Regions from separate parts of the Homo sapiens genome. Here region 2 is linked to region 1. Evidence: promoter capture Hi-C in 16 types of primary human blood cells and fetal thymus (Javierre and others, 2016). All regions are on one chromosome and are shown on one strand. Each heading gives the region's core, a stretch centred on a gene start or on the middle of the fragment in contact. The rest is flanking DNA. Distances are from core to core; before and after follow the strand shown.

Region 1 (3,266 bases), core at 695-3,194:
CCCTCGGAAGGGAGAGGGAATGCGGCGACTGGGAAGTGGAAGGGCGAGGGGCGGGAGATGCTGGGGGGGAGACCCCTGAGATCTTCTCGCAGCGCCCCTTCCACTTCCTCAGGCCCGGTAGGCAGTGCCCTGAGCACGAAGTTCGGGCCCAGGCCCGTGGTGATGACTGGAGGCATCTTGGCTGCGCTGGGGATGCTGCTCGCCTCTTTTGCTACTTCCTTGACCCACCTATACCTGAGTATTGGGTTGCTGTCAGGTGAGAGCCTGCACAAGGGCAGGAGAGTCAAATGCTTAGATCGTTGGATGTTCACCTCCTTCCTGCTCCTTCCAAAGGGTTCGGGGAGAAGCTGAGGGAAAGTTTAGCTAGCACCTGTACCCAGAAGGGAATTCTTAATAGGAATGACTAAAGCGACAAACATGGTGAGGAATTAGGAAATTCAAGGATGATGAAACCTGGCCGGGCACGGTGGCTCACGCCTGTAATCCCAGCACTTTGGGAAGCCGAGGCGGGTGGATCACGAGGTCAGGAGTTTGAGACCAGCCTGGCCAACATGGTGAAACCCCGTCTCTACAAAAATACAAAAATTAGCCGGGCCTGGTGGCGCTAATCCCAGTTACTCGGGAGGCTGAGGCAGGAGAATCGCTTGAACCCGGGAGGCGGAGGTTGCAGTGAGCCAAGATCGCACCACTGCACTCCAGCCTGGGCGACAGAGCAAGATTCTGTCTCAAAAAAAAAAAAAAAAAAGATGAAACCAAGTATACAAGCCCAGAAGCCCAGGGCTAATGGGACTGGAGTGTAAAAGGAAGAATTACTATAAAATGGTGCTAGGGGCCAGGCACGGTGGCTCACGCCTGTAATCCCAGCACTTTGGGAGGCCGAGGCGGGCGGATCACGAGGTCAGGAGATCAAGACCATCCTGGCTAACACGGTGAAATCACGTCTCTACTAAAAACACAAAAAATTAGCTGGGCGTGGTGGCAGGTGACTGTAGTCCCAGCTACTCGGGAGGCTGAGGCAGGAGAATGGTGTGAACCCGGGAAGCAGAGCTTGCAGTGAGCCGAGATTGCACCACTGCACTCCAGCCTGGGCGACAGAGCGAGACTCCGTCTCAAAAAAAAAAAAGAAAAAAAAAGGTGCTAGGTACTGTGACTGTGAAATCGATATCATTATTGGATTTACAGCTGGGGAAAAGCTTTAAAGCTTATACAACTTGGCAAATGAAGGTCACACAGCTAGAAATGGTAGAGCCCAGGTCTAACTCCAAAGTTCTGTGCTAGTTACCTTACAAACTTTGTCTCTAATCTTCCACAATCCCAAAAAGTGTATTATTACATTTTGCAGTTGAGAAGGTTGAGGCTGGGGGTGTTAAGTAAAACACACAAGGTTACACAGCTATGAAGTATCCAAGCCAAGATTGTATCCCAGGTCTGTGGGACTCCGAAGCAAGTGCTACATTCTGCTGCTGGGCAATGCGGGGATTACTGTGTGCCTTGAGCTCCCTAAGAGTTCTCAACACCACTTCTTCCTTTTTGACAGGCTCTGGCTGGGCTTTGACCTTCGCTCCGACCCTGGCCTGCCTGTCCTGTTATTTCTCTCGCCGACGATCCCTGGCCACCGGGCTGGCACTGACAGGCGTGGGCCTCTCCTCCTTCACATTTGCCCCCTTTTTCCAGTGGCTGCTCAGCCACTACGCCTGGAGGGGGTCCCTGCTGCTGGTGTCTGCCCTCTCCCTCCACCTAGTGGCCTGTGGTGCTCTCCTCCGCCCACCCTCCCTGGCTGAGGACCCTGCTGTGGGTGGTCCCAGGGCCCAACTCACCTCTCTCCTCCATCATGGCCCCTTCCTCCGTTACACTGTTGCCCTCACCCTGATCAACACTGGCTACTTCATTCCCTACCTCCACCTGGTGGCCCATCTCCAGGACCTGGATTGGGACCCACTACCTGCTGCCTTCCTACTCTCAGTTGTTGCTATTTCTGACCTCGTGGGGCGTGTGGTCTCCGGATGGCTGGGAGATGCAGTCCCAGGGCCTGTGACACGACTCCTGATGCTCTGGACCACCTTGACTGGGGTGTCACTAGCCCTGTTCCCTGTAGCTCAGGCTCCCACAGCCCTGGTGGCTCTGGCTGTGGCCTACGGCTTCACATCAGGGGCTCTGGCCCCACTGGCCTTCTCCGTGCTGCCTGAACTAATAGGGACTAGAAGGATTTACTGTGGCCTGGGACTGTTGCAGATGATAGAGAGCATCGGGGGGCTGCTGGGGCCTCCTCTCTCAGGTAAGTGGAATGGGGTTCCCAGGGGGTGAGGGCTGCCATGTTGCACAACTAGGGGAGGGTACTATTCTCATTACAGTGTATGTGAATATTGCCCTCTGGTGTAGTACAGTACACAGCCTGCGTGGCCAACCATAGCATCCCTGAAATGGGTCCATGGGGCAAAGAACTTGGGGCTGGGAAAGTCTGAGTGGAAAGACAAAAAGAAGCTAAGTGGAACCCTTGGCAGGGTGCCTACGGCTTGGGTTTGCAGAGGACCTGGCAGAACCTGGCCAGACACAGACGTAGCATTCCAGTGTGCACCCTTTCCTTTGGCCTACTGGGCCCCAAACCAGGTATCTGAGGCACCTGGTCAAAGTTCTGCTGGCTCAGGGTGCCAGAACTTTCAGACCTTTATCTCCTCTTACCCATTAACTGAAGCTTTAGAAAGGCCACAGTTGGTGGGCGCCTGTAGTCCCAGCTACTCAGGAGGCTGAGGCAGGAGAATGGCATGAACCCGGGAGGCGGAGCTTGCAGTGAGCTGAGATCGCGCCACTGCACTTCAGCCTGGGCGACAGAGCGAGACTCCGTCTCAAAAAAAAAAAAAAAAGAAAGGCCACAGTTGCCAGAAAGAAAGGCACAAGTATGCCTGACTCAATCTGGATCTCCAAATCCCTGCAGGCTGGTTTGGAGGTCCTTTCTGAAGGCGGGGAGGTGGTTGAAATTAACTTTTGAGGCCCTTTTGGGAAACCAGAGTTCTTAAGTTTATCCAACTATTCCATGGGAGTTCCAACTCCTCTGAGATGATAAGTCTTCCCTCCACCCAAAAATGTATCTGAGCCCTCAGCCCCAGCAAATAGATCACTCATGTGTATTCTTTTTCTCTCTTGGACCTAGGCTACCTCCGGGATGTGACAGGCAACTACACGGCTTCTTTTGTGGTGGCTGGGGCCTTCCTTCTTTCAGGGAGTGGCATTCTCCTCACCCTGCCCCACTTCTTCTGCTTCTCAACTAC
Region 2 (3,232 bases), core at 672-3,171, 380 kb after region 1:
GCACAAGTCAGATGAAGCACGTTCTGCCGGGGAGGCCCTCACCTTCCAGAGAGGACAGACACAGATTTCCTGCTGGGGGAGGGAGGAGTCCACGCATCCTGATGCTGCCTGGAAGCTTATTTTCCCGTGGCCAGGACGCATTTCTCTGAGTGGAAACAGGTTCTTGCATGTGGATGTGTGTTTCCCCAGGCAGACGGCCCCTCTCTTCCCAGCACTTCCCTGCCTCCCCCAGGCCTCAGGCCCAGCACCCAGTTCCTCCTCACATGGCAGGTGAGCACAGACTTCTAGTTGGCAGGAGCTGAGGAGGGTGAACAAACCCCGAGGGAGGCCCGGCCCTTGCTCCCGAGTTGGGGGGAGGGGGTGTGGCAACGTGCCCCCCGCAGAGGCCACGCATGTTTGACCAAAGCCCTCATTGTGGTCCGAGGACAGCCTTTTCCCCAGGCCTCAGAGCATTGCTCATCCGTGCCAAACTGGGTAGGTGGATTTGAGCGGAAAGACTCCCAAAATGTGCCAAGAATTTCCCAGTCCCAGGCAGGGCAGGGGAAACTAAGGGCAAGCAGGATACAGGGCGAGGGATGTGGCAGGTGAGGGGGCTCCCGCCTGTGCCCCTTCTCCTCACCATGTCTCCCCCACCCTGCCTCAGTTCTCCGTTCCCCTTCATCTCCGTCCCCCTCTTTGAAGCTGTCCCCATCTCAGTGTCAGACCAGCCTTCTCCTCAGCTGACCACCCTCCTCTGACCCACGCCCCCTCCTTGTCTGAAAGAAAGGAGCCTTGAATGGTGGAGGGAGGCAGTGGGGAGAAAGGTCTCACCGGACAGGTTGGGAGAATGAGGTCAGCGGTGCTGGGGAACAGATGGAGGGGGCAGTGGGGACAGGGCTTGGGCAGACACCAGCAGGAATAATTTGAAATGTGTGAGGTGACTCCCCGGAGGGCCTTGGGCTTGGGCATTTGGGAAAAGAATGATGTCTGGAAGGGCTTAAGGGACACAGTGGACGAGGGGAGAGTCCTCATCTGCTGGCATTTTGTGGGGTGTTAGTGCCAAACTTGAATAGGGGCTGGGGTGCTGTCTTCCACTGACACCCAAATCCAGAATCCCTGGTCTTGAGTCCCCAGAACTTTGCCTCTTGACTGTCCCTTCTCTTCCTACCTCCATCCATGGAAAATTAGTTATTTTCTGATCCTTTCCCCTGCCTGGTCTAGCTCCTCTCCAAACAGCCATGCCCTCCAAATGCTAGAGACCTGGGCCCTGAACCCTGTAGACAGATGCCCTCAGAATTGGGGCATGGGAGGGGGGCTGGGGGACCCCATGATTCAGCCACGGACTCCAATGCCCAGCTCCTCTCCCCAAAACAATCCCGACAATCCCTTATCCCTACCCCAACCCTTTGCGGCTCTGTACACATTTTTAAACCTGGCAAAAGATGAAGAGAATATTGTAAATATAAAAGTTTAACTGTTGGTTGTGCCTGCTCTGTTGTGGGGAGGGCGGTCTCTAAAGAAACAAGCCCTGGGGAAGTGACGAGGGAGGAGGGGTCTTTTCAGTGACCAGCTCTGAGGTCTGAGAGGAAGGGGGAGTGTGTGCTGGGGTCTGGTTGCCATGGTAATGGGTCTGTTTGGCAAATGAATGTCAGGACCCGTGTCTATGCCGAGACTGGAGCCTGGTGTCGTTCTATAATGGAAGGACAAAGGCTGATGGGGGCAGATGTCAAACAGGCCAGAGGCCCAGTGGGCTGGTGTAGGCAGCTAGCTCAGCAGAGGTATGTGAGGTGAGAGGCATGGCCTCTGCCAAGGCCTGGACTCAGGCGAGAGGGTCAGCCACGGGTCCAGGACTCAGGGTAGCCCCTTGGCACACTGGAAGGGAGTGGCCTGGCACCATTGTGACCCGTTCACTCCCAAGACCCTCAGGGACAGGCAGGCAGTCAGTGGACACTGTCGGCACGGTGGGCTGGGGGCGTAAGGGCCCCGGTGGTCCTAGGGACCCCATGGCCATGGTTGAGCGGCCGAGGCCCGAGTGGGCCTCGTATCACAACTGCAACAGCAACAGCTGCCAGGACCTGGGCAACTCTGTCCTGTTGCTGCTGGGCCTCATCATCTGCATTAACATTAGCATCAATATAGTGACCCTGGTCAGGGTGGGGCCAGATGGGAGGGAGCTGGTGGGATAGTGGGGGGCAGGCCTGCCGGCCAGGGCCTACCTGGGATCACTGTGTCTTCCCCCACCTAGCTCTGGAGCCGATTCCGTGGTGTCTTATACCAAGTGTTCCATGATACCATTTGTGAGAAAGGTAAGAGGTCTGGGGGCTGGGACATAGGAGGGGCAGAAACCAAGTGCTCTAGCCTCAGCCCTAAATTAGCCCCTTCCCTTCTTGCTCGCCCCTCTCAGACAACATAGCTGTGTGGCTGCCCTTCCTGGGCCCTGCCTCTCCATGCCTGTAGGAGCTGGCCTCCCCACTAGTCTCACCTCTCCCCCATCCACAGAAGCTCCCAAGTCATCATTACTCAGAAAGCAGACCCAGCCCCCTAAGAAGCAGAGTTCTCCTGCAGTCCATCTTCGGTGCACCATGGACCCTGTGATGATGACTGTGTCCCCGCCCCCAGCTCACCGCCATCGCCGTCGAGGCTCTCCCACACGCTGTGCTCACTGCCCAGTAGCTTGGGCTCCTGACACTGATGACGAGAAGCCTCATCAGTACCCAGCCATCTGCTCCTACCACTGGGATGTCCCTGAGGACTGGGAAGGCTTCCAACACACTCAGGGGACCTGGGTTCCCTGGTCTCAGGATGCCCCAGAGTCCCCTCCCCAGACCATCCGCTTCCAGCCTACCGTAGAGGAAAGGCCCCTCAAAACAGGCATATGGTCCGAGCTGGGCCTAAGGGCCTATGTGTATCCTGTGAACCCCCCACCTCCCAGCCCTGAGGCTCCTAGCCACAAGAACGGTGGGGAGGGGGCGGTGCCAGAGGCAGAGGCGGCTCAGTACCAGCCTGTCCCAGCTCCCACCCTGGGCCCAGCAGTCATCCCTGAATTTTCCCGGCACCGCTCCTCAGGCCGAATAGTGTATGATGCCCGGGACATGAGACGGCGGCTTCGGGAACTGACCCGGGAGGTGGAGGCCCTGTCCGGCTGCTACCCCCTAGCCTCTGGATCCAGCACTGCCGAGGAGACAAGCAAGAATTGGGTGTACCGTTCCCTAACTGGGAGGTGACTGGAAAAAAATAAAAAGGAGAGAGGAGG

The links. Contacts are between HindIII fragments. The CHiCAGO score rates a contact against its expected background, and 5 or more counts as called.
Region 2: a contact is called between the fragment with the promoter of SPEM1 here and a fragment that was not itself captured in region 1, in 2 of 17 cell types (M1 macrophages and M0 macrophages). The highest score is 6.1, in M1 macrophages.

The regions. Positions count from the first base shown.
Region 1 is chr17:7,036,615-7,039,880 of GRCh38, forward strand. It overlaps SLC16A13 (solute carrier family 16 member 13), which reads left to right. Exons shown (of 4, transcript NM_201566.3): 2 at 113-256; 3 at 1,538-2,275; 4 at 3,149-3,266. Among named protein-coding and RNA genes, the nearest start is that of SLC16A13, 2.2 kb to the left of the region's middle. The HindIII fragment of the contact is 1,491 bases long and covers 1,200-2,690 here.
Region 2 is chr17:7,418,403-7,421,634 of GRCh38, forward strand. It overlaps SPEM1 (spermatid maturation 1), which reads left to right and starts at 1,922. Exons shown (of 3, transcript NM_199339.3): 1 at 1,922-2,126; 2 at 2,225-2,285; 3 at 2,479-3,230. The coding sequence starts at 1,983. The coding sequence ends at 3,203. It overlaps NLGN2 (neuroligin 2), which reads left to right. Exons shown (of 7, transcript NM_020795.4): 7 at 1-1,458. RefSeq lists an enhancer at 1,406-1,925. The HindIII fragment of the contact is 12,172 bases long and covers 114-3,232 here.